Linked DNA regions of Homo sapiens: all the other regions are linked to region 1. The links are contacts of gene promoters, found by promoter capture Hi-C in blood cells and fetal thymus (Javierre and others, 2016). All regions are on one chromosome and are shown on one strand. Each heading gives the region's core, a stretch centred on a gene start or on the middle of the fragment in contact. The rest is flanking DNA. Distances are from core to core; before and after follow the strand shown.

The links. Contacts are between HindIII fragments. The CHiCAGO score rates a contact against its expected background, and 5 or more counts as called.
Region 2: a contact is called between the fragment with the promoter of OSGEPL1-AS1 here and the fragment with the promoter of DNAJC10 in region 1, in 1 of 17 cell types (fetal thymus). The highest score is 5.5, in fetal thymus.
Region 3: a contact is called between the fragment with the promoter of WDR75 here and the fragment with the promoter of DNAJC10 in region 1, in 3 of 17 cell types (total B cells, naive B cells and total CD4 T cells). The highest score is 14.3, in total B cells.
Region 4: the fragment with the promoter of ATF2 here is called in contact with the fragment with the promoter of DNAJC10 in region 1 in 3 of 17 cell types (activated CD4 T cells, naive B cells and non-activated CD4 T cells); the score reaches 7.1 in activated CD4 T cells.
Region 5: the fragment with the promoter of LNPK here is called in contact with the fragment with the promoter of DNAJC10 in region 1 in 1 of 17 cell types (non-activated CD4 T cells); the score reaches 11.6 in non-activated CD4 T cells.

The regions. Positions count from the first base shown.
Region 1 is chr2:182,714,921-182,717,620 of GRCh38, reverse strand. It overlaps DNAJC10 (DnaJ heat shock protein family (Hsp40) member C10), which reads right to left and starts at 1,364. Exons shown (of 24, transcript NM_018981.4): 1 at 1,138-1,364; 2 at 549-605. It also overlaps a transcript of PDE1A not described here. RefSeq lists a silencer at 972-1,131 and enhancers at 693-1,297, 1,642-1,711, 1,732-1,881. The HindIII fragment of the contact is 1,821 bases long and covers 811-2,631 here.
Region 2 is chr2:189,761,383-189,764,082 of GRCh38, reverse strand. OSGEPL1-AS1 (OSGEPL1 antisense RNA 1) reads right to left here and starts at 1,303. Exons shown (of 2, transcript NR_102429.1): 1 at 1,091-1,303. OSGEPL1 (O-sialoglycoprotein endopeptidase like 1) reads left to right here and starts at 1,291. Exons shown (of 9, transcript NM_022353.3): 1 at 1,291-1,398; 2 at 2,423-2,663. The coding sequence starts at 2,443. It also overlaps a transcript of ANKAR not described here and a transcript of ORMDL1 not described here. RefSeq lists enhancers at 616-1,362, 1,649-1,808. The HindIII fragment of the contact is 3,776 bases long and covers 1,216-2,700 here.
Region 3 is chr2:189,440,186-189,442,885 of GRCh38, reverse strand. WDR75 (WD repeat domain 75) reads right to left here and starts at 1,412. Exons shown (of 21, transcript NM_032168.3): 1 at 1,308-1,412. The coding sequence starts at 1,393. It also overlaps a transcript of COL5A2 not described here. RefSeq lists enhancers at 967-1,016, 1,037-1,266, 1,287-1,416, 1,677-1,896, 1,917-2,076 and 1 more. The HindIII fragment of the contact is 5,353 bases long and covers 1-2,700 here.
Region 4 is chr2:175,166,874-175,169,573 of GRCh38, reverse strand. It overlaps ATF2 (activating transcription factor 2), which reads left to right and starts at 1,371. Exons shown (of 14, transcript NM_001880.4): 1 at 1,371-1,524. MIR933 (microRNA 933) reads left to right here and starts at 1,865; the gene lies at 1,865-1,941. RefSeq lists a silencer at 1,353-1,422. The HindIII fragment of the contact is 6,773 bases long and covers 1-2,700 here.
Region 5 is chr2:176,000,845-176,003,544 of GRCh38, reverse strand. It overlaps LNPK (lunapark, ER junction formation factor), which reads left to right and starts at 1,278. Exons shown (of 13, transcript NM_030650.3): 1 at 1,278-1,385. RefSeq lists an enhancer at 865-1,084. The HindIII fragment of the contact is 1,642 bases long and covers 664-2,305 here.

The DNA.
Region 1 (2,700 bases), core at 115-2,614:
AGTTATAGCGTTGCCTGTAATACCTCTTCCTTTTAGCTACTTCTTTACCTCCTAAAGCTGTCTAATTTTCATTTTCAGCAGAATTCACTTGTAGGAAATGTCCTTGGGAGGGACTAGAAGGAAACATAGGGTTTTTTACTTCTCATATAACCCTACCAGAAATGACAGTGAAATATATTGTTATAATAGACAATCTACACAGCAGTCGATCTTCTTCCCGGAGTTTCCTCAGAAGGTGCTTATACTGAATTTAAGTAGAGGCCATTTTTTAAAAATAGTAGAAAAACAATTGTAAGTTACCAGTGTAATTTTATTGCAAAGTTCATGTTTGGTGTAAGTAGAAACAAAACACAAAAAGAGAAGGGAATCGGTTATTTAGACATACTCTCTGCAGGGCAAAAACAATCATTACTTCATCATATCACATTTCAACCACTATATTTTAGTTCCAAAGAGATCGTAATGCTTTGAAAAATCTAACGCTCCTCGCACCTCATTTCTGTTTTTCATTTAATCCTAAATGTATATTTAAAAATTTTTCTCTTTACCTGTGAATGGTCTTCAGCTCATTTCTAATACTTCCTTTTCATTCCACAAAAATATACCTTTGAAAAATATAATGATGTAGAGATTAACAAGTATCCAAACAAGAAAACAACCATCAGAAAAAGAGAGGGCATAGTCTCAATCAACACTTTGGGATAAGATGTTTCTCGCCCAGGGGTTGTTCTCAGCGTGGGTGTGGCCGAACTGCCCGTGGCCCGAGCTACCGGGCAGGTGGAAGCGCCAGGTAAATGCAAGGCGCAAGCTTTCGCATTGCCATCACTGCAGAGTGGGAGAGGGGAGAGGGGTAAAGATGAAGACACGGGGGAACAGGGCTGTTAAGTGTTGCTGGTGTCTGAAGTCTCAGGTCGGACTTAGGGAGAAAGTGTAAGTAACTGAGAGGGAATCGCTGGGCAGAGGAAGGGTGGTGTGAATAACAGGGAGGAGGAAGGTGGGGAGCGAGAACACAATATCCAGGTCTTAAGAGCGCACAGGAAGGGAGGTTCAGGCGCTCAGCCATTCCGCCCCTCCCTGACCGGAGGGCCCAGGCCACCACCGGCTCCAGCAAAGCCCTAGCCCCGGGCCCATGCCCACCTTGCCATCGCGGGGTCGCTTCCTGTAGCTACTCCCCCATCCTCAAACCCTGGCGGCGGACCCCGCCTGGCCGAGCCCAAGCACCGCGTGCAGGAGAGAAGCACACGCACTCTCCGACGGCCCAGCCGCGGCGCACGGGATTGGTGAGGTGCAGCCACACCGGCGACTACCAGCGCGCGGCCGGTACCGGTAGGTTCCTCACGCGCCGGTCTCCACGGCGAGCCGGGGCGGGGCCTGGCGCGGAGCATTGTGGGAAAGGCGTGGAGGACGCTGCCTGGGGAGACCCGCTGCGGGCCCAGCGGGCGCTGCGGCGGTGGGGTGGAGAGGGCGGTGTAGGTTTAGGTTGACGTGGCGGTGTGCGCGGGATCCGGCTCCGGCTCCGGCTCCAACCCGGAGCTGAGGGAACTGCCCTGGCCAAGCAGCCCGCGCCCCCTCACCAATGCGGCCGGCGCCTGCCGCGGGCGGGGAGGGTGGATGGCGAAGCCCGCCTCTTCCTGCTTCCGTTGCCAGGGTGACGGGGAAACCCAGAGGGTGGGTTTTGGGGTTGAGTTCCCTGAGAGTCTTTTAAAGGGAAGACGGAGCTTTGGAGGATTTGTCTGGGTGATGGGTGGGTGAGACCGAAAGGCGAAATTTGGCGGAGAAAGGAGAAGTTGCCTGAAGCGACACTGATTGCAGTATCAGGCTAGCGGACTGAAGAGGCAGTAGGAAACTTGAAGGAAATTAAAACATTTACAATTTTGTGTAAGCGTGTGTATCAACAAGCATTTGAGACTTCTACAATATTTTCTGGATTCTGAGTCATACAAGCTAGAAACTGGGGAGTTATCGTTGTTCTCTCTTACCTTGATCTCCTACTGCTATGGTACAGGAACTGCATTTTGTCCCACAGCAATATAACAATTGAAGTGGTTATATTTACTACATTTTCTATATTTAAAAGAGAAAACCGAGCCTAGAGGATACCTGCTTATAACATCAACCCTAACATGAAATAAGTTGTGATTGGTAACAGTTTCGGGGAGTAAATCAAGTGTCAGCTTCTAAAAACTTGGAAAACTACACAGGATCTATGGCTAAGCTAATACTTGGTAGGAAAGAAGAGGAAGTAGAATGAACAAAGGCAAACATTAGAAGCAGCCTGATGTAATAGTAGTTAATATGTCTCAGGAACTGGTCTAAGCACACATGTAGTAACTCATTTAGTCCTCCAAATAATCTTACAAGATAGTGGCTCCTATATCTATTTCCCATTTGAGGAAACTGAGGCAAATATTTGAGAGCTAGGATTCACATCTAAGCAACCTGGCTTCAGAGACTATGATGTTAAGCATTATGACACAGTGTGTAACCATTTTGTTACACACTGTAACAAAATCTTAAAGTAAATTGAAAAACAAACAGAAAACTGGAAGATGAAGCAGGGACCAGATCACAGACAGGTTTTTATACCAAGATGAAGACATAGATTTCTATCTCTTAGGTGATGAGGAAGCTTTTAAAAAAGAGACTGAGATTGTATTTTAGATCATCCTGGCAGCTATTGGAGAGAGGATGCAAAGCATA
Region 2 (2,700 bases), core at 54-2,553, 7.0 Mb before region 1:
TGACTTCTAATCCTAGCTTTGCTTTTCCTAGTTGTGTGACCTCCAAAGCACCCAAACTCTGTGGCCCAGTTGCCTGTAAAATGAGGACAGAAACTATTTCATGGGATTTTGAAAGAAATTAATCTACAGCAGGTGCCTGGTACATAGTGCCACTTTATCATTATTGTTACACATAAATGAAATTTTTGAAAAACATAAGTTCCAAATAAAAAACCTCAACCATATTCTGGTAATTATTTACTTATTTATCTGTATCCACCTCTAGACTGTACTCTGTGGCTTCCCAACATGTTGTTATGGGATTTACTCATCTTTTATACCCAGAGCTTCACAACGTGCAAAGTGCAGGTATATATGCCAGCCCTGTACAACAGTGGATTCTAAGGTCCTTGCTTACTAAAATCTTAAATACCAGCAGGGGAAAAGCCTGACTCTTGGAATAAATCTGTCCAATGTTCAAAACAAAGTTCACAAACCAATAAAAGAAAAAAAAAAAAAAAAGCAGGTGCAAGACTTTGAAAACATACCATGCTGAATTTCATGTACATAGTAAGGAAGGACAACATAATGCATTATGAAAATAGGATGGTTTAAGGCAACTGAATATTTACCACAGCCTTTTTTTTTTTTTTTTTTTTTTTTTTGAGACAGAGTCTCGCTCTGTAGCTCAGGCTGGAGTGCAGTGGCGCGATCTCGGCTCACTGCTACCTCCGCCTCCCGGGTCCCAGTTCAAGCAGTTCTCCTGCCTCAGTCTCCCGATTTTTTTTTTTTTTAATTGTAAAAATAAGCCAGCCCCTTTCTTCCTAGTGAAGTGGGAGAAACGGTTTACACTGTCCGATGAGAAACACTTCCGTTCTTTGGTAACCCTGCTAGGGGGCGCCGCTAGATTCCATCCTATTTCTCCGATGAAAGTATCAGGTACCTCACCCCTAAGTTTAGATTTGATGATAGTTCCCTTAAAAATGAATGACGAATAATCTACCCCATCCTTTTCTCACAGTAGCAACCAAATTCCAGCCAAGGGCAAAAAAAAAATTTCTTTTTAATGTAGCTTAGTGTTTGGAACTTGATGTTGTGTAGTCAGACAAACCTGTATTCGGCCTCCGCTGGATCAGTCACTAGCTGTGTAATTTTACAGAACTCTCATCACCTGCAAATCTGGGGGAAATGCAGGTGCGCACAGAGAGCGTTTTGGGCAAAGACGGCCTTTAAGCTTTTCTTCACTAAGCATGCCGCTCGCTAGCGGAACAGCAGCCAGCTCTGGACGGGACCTTGCACAGTTCCGATGACATCACTTCCGGGCGCCAGGTTCGGGCTTTCTCCTGCAGCGATAAGGGCAGTCGACAGTCTTTAGTAGGGAAAGGAGACAAGTGCTAGCTACTGCCGCCCAAGTGGAAGGTGGGTGAAATTGCTCACTCTTCACCCCACTGACGCTTTTGCGCACCTGGAAAAGCGGTTCCAGTTTGCGCCCGTCGCCGCCTTACAGCCGACAGGAGACCAGCGCTACCCAAGTCACGTGGGTTCAGCCTGCAGCTTTCTTGGCCCGAAAGGGTAGTGCTTCGTACAATCCTCCTTGTCCAGATTTTGTTAATGCAAATCTAATTCCTCTAGGTTGTGTCTGTCTGGGCTGCACTGCCCGCAACTGCCTTCTGCAAATAGGTCGCTCATCTCTAATCCCTGGGATGCCGTGTCCCTTTAGTGTGGTGGAGAAAGGCCCTGCTTTAACACCCAGAAAGTTTTAGAACGGATGATCTGGGGGCATAAAATTAGGTGCTTCGCAGTGTGAAAATACTAGTGTGCTTTAGTGATGGGCTGCTATTATTTTGGGGGAAAAGGATTTGGGAAGATCCTTGTTATGACAAAACCTGTAGCAAAAAGTGGAGATTTAATTCCAAAGATTGCAATTAAGGATAAAATAGGTGTTAGGTTGCAGTTGGCGTGTGTGTGTTTATGTTAACTCTTGTTTTTGAACCAAATGATCCAGTTTTATTTTGAAAGATGTTTTTAGGAGATGGAATACATTAACAGTATTTTTATCTGTTCCATCTGCCTTTGTTGTTTGATTCTTTTTAGAAAATCCACATTTTGTCTTAATTTTAGCTGTCAAAAAATAAATAGCACTTTTCAGAGGACTCTATCAATTATTGTACTTTATATTAGCTGTCTTAATAGTAAGTCTTTTGGTAGGAACAGCATGCAAGTAATAATAATACTAAAAAATTTTATATCTGACCCCTGTTTTCCCCCTTGGAGAACATTATATTCATTCATAATATTATTTATATTCCCATGTTGCTATAGCCTTTACAAACTTTTGGTGACTTTTACAAACTTTCCTGTAATTCTGTAAAACTATATATTGAAAAATAAGCTGGCTAATGTCAGTTGCAAATAATAAGTTGTTTCTGTAATTCTTTTTCAGGAATTATCTATAGAGTAAGTATGCTAATCTTGACTAAGACTGCAGGAGTTTTTTTTAAACCATCAAAAAGGAAAGTTTATGAATTTTTAAGAAGTTTTAATTTTCATCCTGGAACACTATTTCTTCATAAAATAGTATTGGGAATTGAAACTAGTTGTGATGATACAGCAGCTGCTGTGGTGGATGAAACTGGAAATGTGTTGGGAGAAGCAATACATTCCCAAACTGAAGTTCATTTAAAGTAAGTAGACATTATCTTAGTCATTTCCACTTTTTTG
Region 3 (2,700 bases), core at 163-2,662, 6.7 Mb before region 1:
ATAAGATCAATGTCAACAAAGCCACAGGACTCATTTTTTTTTGGCTTCTAAGGCAATTTATAAAAGCTCTTTCAGTCATGCTTGCATTACCTTCAACAACTACCTGTCGTACACTCATATGCAGAATATTGTGGGGGTGGGCCGGGCACAGTTGCTCACTGTAATCGCTGCACTTTGGGAGGTTCAGGTGGGCAGATCACTTGAGGCCAGGAGTTCCAGGGCAGCCTGGCCAACATGGCGAAACCCTCTCTCTACTAAAAATACAAAAATTAGCGGGCGTGGTGGCCCGCGCTTATAATACTTGCTACTCAGGAGGCCGAGGCACCAGAATTGCTTGAACCAGGGAGGCGGAGGTTGCAATGAGCCTAGATTGAGCCACTGCACTCCAGCCTGGGTGACAGAGTGAGATTCTGCATCAAAAAAAAAAAAAAAAAAAAAAAAAAGAATATTGTGGAGGCTACAAACTTTCATAAAATACTATCTCTACTCTTCTAAGGCAGAAAGGGTTTTTTGATTTTATTAAGTGCCACCCTACCTAAAGTTATTTGAAAACCTGACAATACAGTAATAATGATTACAGCTACATACATTGAGCCATTATGTGCCGGGCATTGTTGTCTGTAGTTTTAACATATTGAGGCATTTAATCCTCCCAATAACCACGTGAGATGAACTAAATATTGTCCCCCTTTACAGATGATGGCAACTGAGGCAAAGATTAAGAAACTTACAAAGGTTTCATAATGTAAGAAGTGGATTTTGAAGCCAGGGAGTGGTTTGGTTTCCAGCTACACTGAGAAAAGAGACCAAGTCTTAGCGTATTTTTATCTCATAAAGAATCTAACATCTGTTTTCATGTAAAGTTCCGAAAAGACTGCACTATGCTTCATGCACTATGCTTCAGGAGTGAGGAGTGGGTAGAAAAAGCGGAATAGTTTTAGGTTTTAGTCACTCCAAAACATGATTCTGTACGAAAGAGTAGGTACTGCAAAGGTAGTGGCATACACATCCACCCCTGGACCATTTTCCAGCCGCCCGAACACCTTCCAGATCCTCGACACGGAGACCGGCTCCAGGGCCTTTATCTACCTGCAGGTAAACTGTCCAGGAATCGGGGGACGCAACCCAATCTGCAGTGGTAACGGGACCTCCCAGGTACCCTGGGGATCCCCCACAGGCGCGTGCTCTACCCAAAGCCGATATCCGCCAGGCGGGCGAGTCCGAACGCGACTGACAATTCCTTCTCCCCGACCCTCGAGAAACTCACGCCCCGCCCCTCAGCCGACAAAGCGCGGTGCCCCTCATACTTAGAATCTGCAGAGAACACAGCTCTCCTAAAGTTCAACTCGCTGCCGCCACAACGAACCACGCGGATGTTCTCCTCCTCCACCATCTTTGCGCAGTAGCGGAATGGCCAATCTCTGGTCCCGCCCTGAACTTCCTTCGTTGAGCCGGGTAATAAGGCTGTTCCCAGCCCACAGAACCCACCCCCGGGCCCTTCTAGGCCTGAGACTCGGTGGTAGGACTCCGCTTCCGTGCAGGCACCTTTTGTGTGGGCAATGTCAAACTAAGACACTTGTAAGAAAAGGTGAAAGCAAAACAGAGATTTAGAGACAATCAGTTTTTATTATATACCTATACACAATTATTTAATACAGACATATTTCTCTCAGGCCTTGTCAACCTGACTCTATGGCTTTTTCCGCCAGAAGGGAAAGGTGGCGTATAGTGTACCACGTGACCTCCAGTCGTCCCACCGGAGGCGTCGCTTTCTAGTGTCTGTGGTGTCGGCGCTGCAGGATGACGCGAGCCTCTCGCGTCCCTGGTTTTCTCGGTCGCAGCGTTGAGTTATTGGGTGGAAAGGTAGCTTTCTCTTCCTTGTACAGCTTTTTGTTCCTCTCATTAGCCGTTCTTCTGTTCTTGTGAACATCGCTTAGGTTACTACAGAATCTCCACAGTCCTAGGGCCTAGCTTTCTTCCTTTGGAAATCTGGCTCCTACTCCGGGATTCTGGTGCATCTTCCGCAGCGTTCAGTGTAGCTGCTCGGGCTAATCTGACATTCGGCCAGTCCCGCCAGGTTTCAGGGCGCTGGTCTCTGGTTTCCTGAGTTTTACCTTTTCCCATTAGTGAATAGAATCTGTGGGTTAGGAACCCCTAAAATCTCAACATGTTTATTTTTGCCAGTTTATCTCCAGTTTTCCTTTGTAAACTTACACGTATCATATTCTTGGACCCTGTATATTATGTTGCCTATTTTGATTTCGCTTCTTGATTTGTGGATTTACCACAAAATTACCAAGGTCTCAAATATAGTCACATGTCACATAAGGATCTTTCAATCAATGCATATAACATGGTGATTCCGTAAGATTATAATACTGTGTTTTTACTGTACCTTTTATGTGTTTAAATACACAAATACTATTCTGTTACAATTGCCTGCAATATTGAGTACAGTAACATGTTGTTCAGATTTGTAGCCTAGGAGCAATCAGCTATAACGTACAGCCTAGGTGTGTAGTAGGCTGTACCATCTAGGTTTGTGTAGGTACACTCTGTGATATTCACACAATGATGAAATCACCTAAAATGCATTTCTTAGAACATATCCCCATCATTAAGCCACACATGATTATACCTATAAGTTTATTTATGGTGGAGAAATACAATATTCACAAAGGTCAAGACATATCCTGGGAC
Region 4 (2,700 bases), core at 122-2,621, 7.5 Mb after region 1:
ACACTGGAAAAAATTTCAAATGGAAAAACAATTTTTTTAAAAAAATCTATTCTAATTGACCCAAACTTCTTTTGAAATGTCGTAACATTTGCAGTTCTTTTTCTCACATTAGTTGTTTTGGGAGATGGAGAGAGAAGCATCTATTTAATCAATGCGTTCTAGACCTAACAATTGTGATGTCAATCAAACATTTTGTCCACCATTTCCATCATGAGTAATCTGAACTGTGAGGTTTTGCTGACATAATTAGTGTTACACTACAATGGCACTACTACATTACTGTTACTATATGGGGACGGTACTTTCATTTTAAGTAGGAAAGTGTTAATAATTTGGCTTAATGTTTCTTAACTAAAATTAGTTTTAAAAGAGGACTGAGTTGGCTTATACACATGTATGCGGTCCAGAGACCTACCTGTTAAAATGTCAATGCCATTACAATTTCACTTTTATGCCAGATATCATTCTTGAACTTCAGGCTCATTAACTCTCATACTATCCCCCAAAACCTTTCAACAATTTTGAGAGTGTATTTTATGTTAATATATAAACTAGTTCATAATTTTGTTCCAGACTAGAAATCAGTATTTAATAAATGGAAAAAATAAGACACTGAAAATCTTTTATTGAATAATGTAAATTCTCACAGAGGCCTCTGATCATACTTTTCAACTTGTGCCTATTTATTGAATAACCAACATCCTTACAGTTAATATTAAAATCTTTAAGTTGTGTGGGGTTTTTTGGAGGGGAGGGATGGGCAATTACCAGCAAACTCCGCCTCCCCCAAACCTCACCTAACCCGAAGCTCCCCGCCTCAGGCTCCCGGGGAGCCAAGGGGTGGGCTGAGGAACGCAGCCTACTTTTACCCACCTCCCTACCTAGTGCTGGGAAGTGACGGAAACGGAGACACCCGGCTCCTGGGGCTGGGCTCGGAGGACCCATCCTGCTTTCCCTCTAGCAGCCTTTCCGGAGCTCACCACCTTTCCTCCCCTCACACCGCCAAAGCCCTGCCTAGCCCTTCACCGCCGCCTGCACCCGCGCCCTCCTCCAGCCGACAGCCAATCACAGTCTTCCACAGCTCCGGGTTTACAGAAGTAACGCTCCTTGGGCCCTCTGGTCCCGCCCCCTCCAGAACTGCTTCCCGCCCTTCGGGCTCCTTGTCCAATCATGAGCGCCCGAGTGCTCTTTGATGCCCGTCCCCTCTACCCGCCCTGCCGAAGACCCGCCTTCTTCTCCTTAAGCCTGACGGAATCACCTGACTCGGAGGCGCTCCCTCAGAAGGAAGGCAAGAAGGGGCGTGTGGGTGAAGGGGAGGGGCGCCAGAAGGAAGGTGGGGATGCCGGGAGCGGGGCGAGCGGGCGGGGGTTGTCAGTCCGATCTCGCGAGAGAGGACGGAAGCCTGTGGGAGCCCGTGGCCTTTAAAGTGCCGTTCAGCCTTTTCCTCCAGGGGTGCTTTGTAAACACGGCTGTGCTCAGGGCTCGCGGGTGACCGAAAGGATCATGAACTAGTGACCTGGAAAGGTGAGTAACGATGGGCAGAGGTCAGCAGGGCTGGAGACTGTAGGGATACGGAGAAAGAAGGCGCTAACATGGCGACGTCGCTCAGCACAGTCCCCACCCCCCGTTTCCCATCACCTCGGGTGCTCCTGACGTGCTCCTTAGCCCTTGGGGCGATTGTGGCTGTGCTGCCACCTCGGCGGCCCGCGCGGTGTGGGCTTTGGGAACCTGACTGGCTGGGCCGGACCGTTAGGTAACCAGCGTTCGTTGTTCCGGCCCCTCCCTCTCGCGCGCTTTCCTAAGGCAGAGGAAAAAGGAATAACGGCTCCCTCTTAGACCCCTCCCTCCGAATTATCTTCACCCTACTTGGGTCAGTTCAGAGGTCCTCGGGGCGCGCGTCGAGTCAGCCGTGTGCGCAGGGAGACCTCTCCCACCCACAGTCCTTGGGTTGGGCGGGGAGAGGGCCCACTCTGGTCTCCCCACCCAGTATTCAAGCGATTGAGGACCGTGTATTGGTGATGGTGGCGGGGAGGAGGATCGGGAGGCGCGGCTGAAAATAGAATCAGGGTCCCTGGCTGCGGTGCAGCTTGAAGGAAAGAATGGTGTGGAGAACCTAGGAGCTGGAAGTCTCGGCCTTTTCCGTCCTTTCCGCCACCCTCACAATCCCGCTACCCCCAGCTTTTTCCCGGTGGGGCGGGGCTTAGGTGTGGGTGCAGACTGATTCTGGTATTTTCCCTTATTTTTTTTTTTTTAAATCTCTGGGTGGACAGCAGAGCGTATGTAAAGAAATAATTTGCTTTTCATCAATGCCCTAGGGACCAGGGCCGAAAGGGAGTGTGTGTACGTGTTTTCTATGTTCGCTCGTTTAACCGAACCTAGGAGGAAAAAGAGAGGAGGAGCTGGGAACTATTTTTGTGCCCCTAGGTAGTATAAAATTGGCTTTCTTTAATGGAGAGTCTTAAAACTGGTGAGGCCAAGAGCAAAACTACTGTGAATATCATGGAGTAAAAGAGATTACTCCTGATGGACCTTAGGCATCAGAAATTTTAGTGAAAGAAATGTTTCTCTTAAAATTCAACACCTATTTTAAATAGTGATGTAAAGCATTTCTTTACATGTACCTTCAGGTTTTCTAATGCTTTCCTGGCTATTATTTAACTGGTACTAAGGGATTGACTAATCCCTAAATTATAATGTGAA
Region 5 (2,700 bases), core at 29-2,528, 6.7 Mb after region 1:
TCTACATTTGGAAAGTGCCTGATCCACAGTGACACGCTAAACTTCAGTTCCCTTCCCCTCATCCTTGCAAGTGTACAGAACTGTAACTAAATATTTAGGCAATTAGGGCAAGCAAATTGCACAGTGAATTATGCGGTAGCTTCTAGTATAATAAATTTTCTTACCAACCAAACAATGCTCAGTTGCTTCTCTTGACAACCTGTTTGCATCGTCAAAGTTTAAATGTAACATATTAAAACTATTACTCTTTAAAAAATCATTGAAACTTTTTTGTGTATAAATAAAAAAATAGAATAAAAATAAATAAAAAATAGAAAAAAACCCATGAAAAATGTTTGCACATGGGGTAAAGCATGTAAAAGGGGTAAAGCATGATAAAAACCTTCGCTGAAGTTTCCCTGCTCACACATTACTGTGTGCACGTCTAGTCTTTTTCTCATTCAGGCATCATTTGTTATTTGTCTTTTCCAGTTGAGGAGGACACTTAATACCGTTTCGGCAGCGTTTCAAATCCGAGTCAAATATAGCCTGAGTGGTTTTTTTGTGGGTCCACCTATCAGGGCCTGTGAAGAGTGTTCTTGGGGTTAAGAGTTCTAAGATAGAAAACTCAGCTTATGCTGTTACCCGCAGGTTTTAAAGCAACATGATACGGCGTTTGAAGCTTACCTCACACCGGTGAGGTAAGCGTCCAGTCATCAAATGACCCTTTTTGACGTCCAAGAGTGACAGAGCCTCAAGCACTCCTGGGGACCGGGCTGACTTTTCTCCACTGGCTTGGTTGGGAACTGGCTTCTTCGGAGCTGTGTAGTCTTAATTTGCTTTGCTGCTGGCTGGCTGACAGCTGATGGGGGACTCCTCAGGACGGACTCCCTTCCAGATGCACCCATCTCCATCCTTCTCAACTCCCCAACCTTTGTCCTCCCCACTCTTCGCTCGCGCGGCGGTCTGAGACCACCAGGACCAGTTTCAGGGGTTTCCTTCTCCAGCGAGACTTGGCAGAACAGGCTTTAAAAGCAAAGGAGGCAGCGGAAGAGTAAGAAATAACTATATTCTAAGAGTCATAATAAATGGCAGTACATAACTGCGACACGACACCGAGCAGCCTAAGCTGGCTGCGGAGGCCACAAACACAAGATCCTAACCTCCCGGCCGACCCGCCCCAACAACTACCCGCCCAGGGTACGGTCACGTGACGGGGGAGCGGCGCGCGCCGACCGCGGCGCCAATTGGCGAGCGGCTGGAGCGCGGGGTTTCATGGGAAGGAGTTGGCCCGGCTTGTCTCTCTGTCAGTGGCGGCTGCTGCCTGCTCTGGAGGCAGGCTGGGCGGTGGCGGCCGAGACTGGCGGGGGTGGACGCCCGGGCCGGGCTGCGCCCGCTTCTTGCAGGTAGAACGCTCAAGGCGAGGGCAGTTGGGAGGGCTCTGCAGCGGGGAGGCATGCTGAGCTGTGCCCCTGGGAAATAAGCTGCGGGTTCCCCGCTTGCCTCTCCTTGGTGCCCCCGCCTCCTGCCAAGTGGCCTAGAGCTCTGCGGCGGCTGCTAGTCAGGCTGCGCGGTGGTCCGCGCAGACCCAGGCTCGCCGCCTTGTTCCCTGGATTTCCCAGCACACTGGCAGTGGTGGCGCTGGAGTCTTGAAACCCTTGTTTCCCCTCTAGGGCTGGTAGTTTCTCCAGCTCGGTTCTAGGAGATTCCGGGTGGTGACTGGCTTGAGCCCCAGCTCTTTGGCCCACTTGTGTCGAGCTTATCTCGACACAGGTGGGGCAAAGAGGTCAGAAGGTCCCAAACTAGCATTTCCTACGCTCAGCTGTCCGCTTTGAGCGTTCTCTCCGCTTCTCTTTCTGAGTTGTGCGGAGGCTCCAAGAGTTAGAAAGACCAGAAGGGACTGAAAACTGTCAGTGTCATGCTGCCGGGCTCTAGCGTGTGGGCGTGGAGTACGTGCTACTTAGAGAAGAGACTCTCCAACCATTGTCCTTATTTCAGGGATGGTGGGCTGTGGGGTGGAGGGGAAGGGCGAAGGTGCATTGTATCAGAGGCGTGGTAGGAGGAGAAAAACAAATCTAAATTCCGTCAGTTCATAGTTTACGGATTGAGAAAGAGTTGAAATTGGTCAACTCAGCTTTGCTGATGGTGCTTTCACAGTACTAAGCAAGACCCGTGAATCACTGAGTTTTCCGTGTTCTGCTTTTCCCAGTTGGCCTCCGGTGTGTGTTGCTCGGTGTCTACTGTTTCCTCCTTTCTTTATGGCCTGGGTGTCAGCATTGACAAAATTGACTCTATTCAACAGCGGTTTGGTGGGTGTGAGTAAGCTTGGTTTCAGGAATATGTTCAAACTGGCAGGGAATGCTCATTTCTTTTCCTCAGCAGCCCCCAGAAGACCAAGTTGACTTTTAACACATTTTCTTAAACAGGAGTGGTGCGTTTAAATTAGAATTTTAAGGTTGTCTGTTATCTATTGAGATCAGCTCAGTAATGATGTTAGTAAACTTATATAGTGTTTATATGTTATATAAACAAGAAAATACAAGAAAAGGAGAAGTTATATGGCTATTAAAAATATATGACTTCACATAGAAACATTTATAATCAAATAGTAATTTTTTGGTGGTATTTAGTTCAGATGAAAATTGACTTACCATGAAAGCAAGCACTAATCATTATATATTAAGAGTGCTTAATATATAATAGAGGTGTACTTTTCATTAA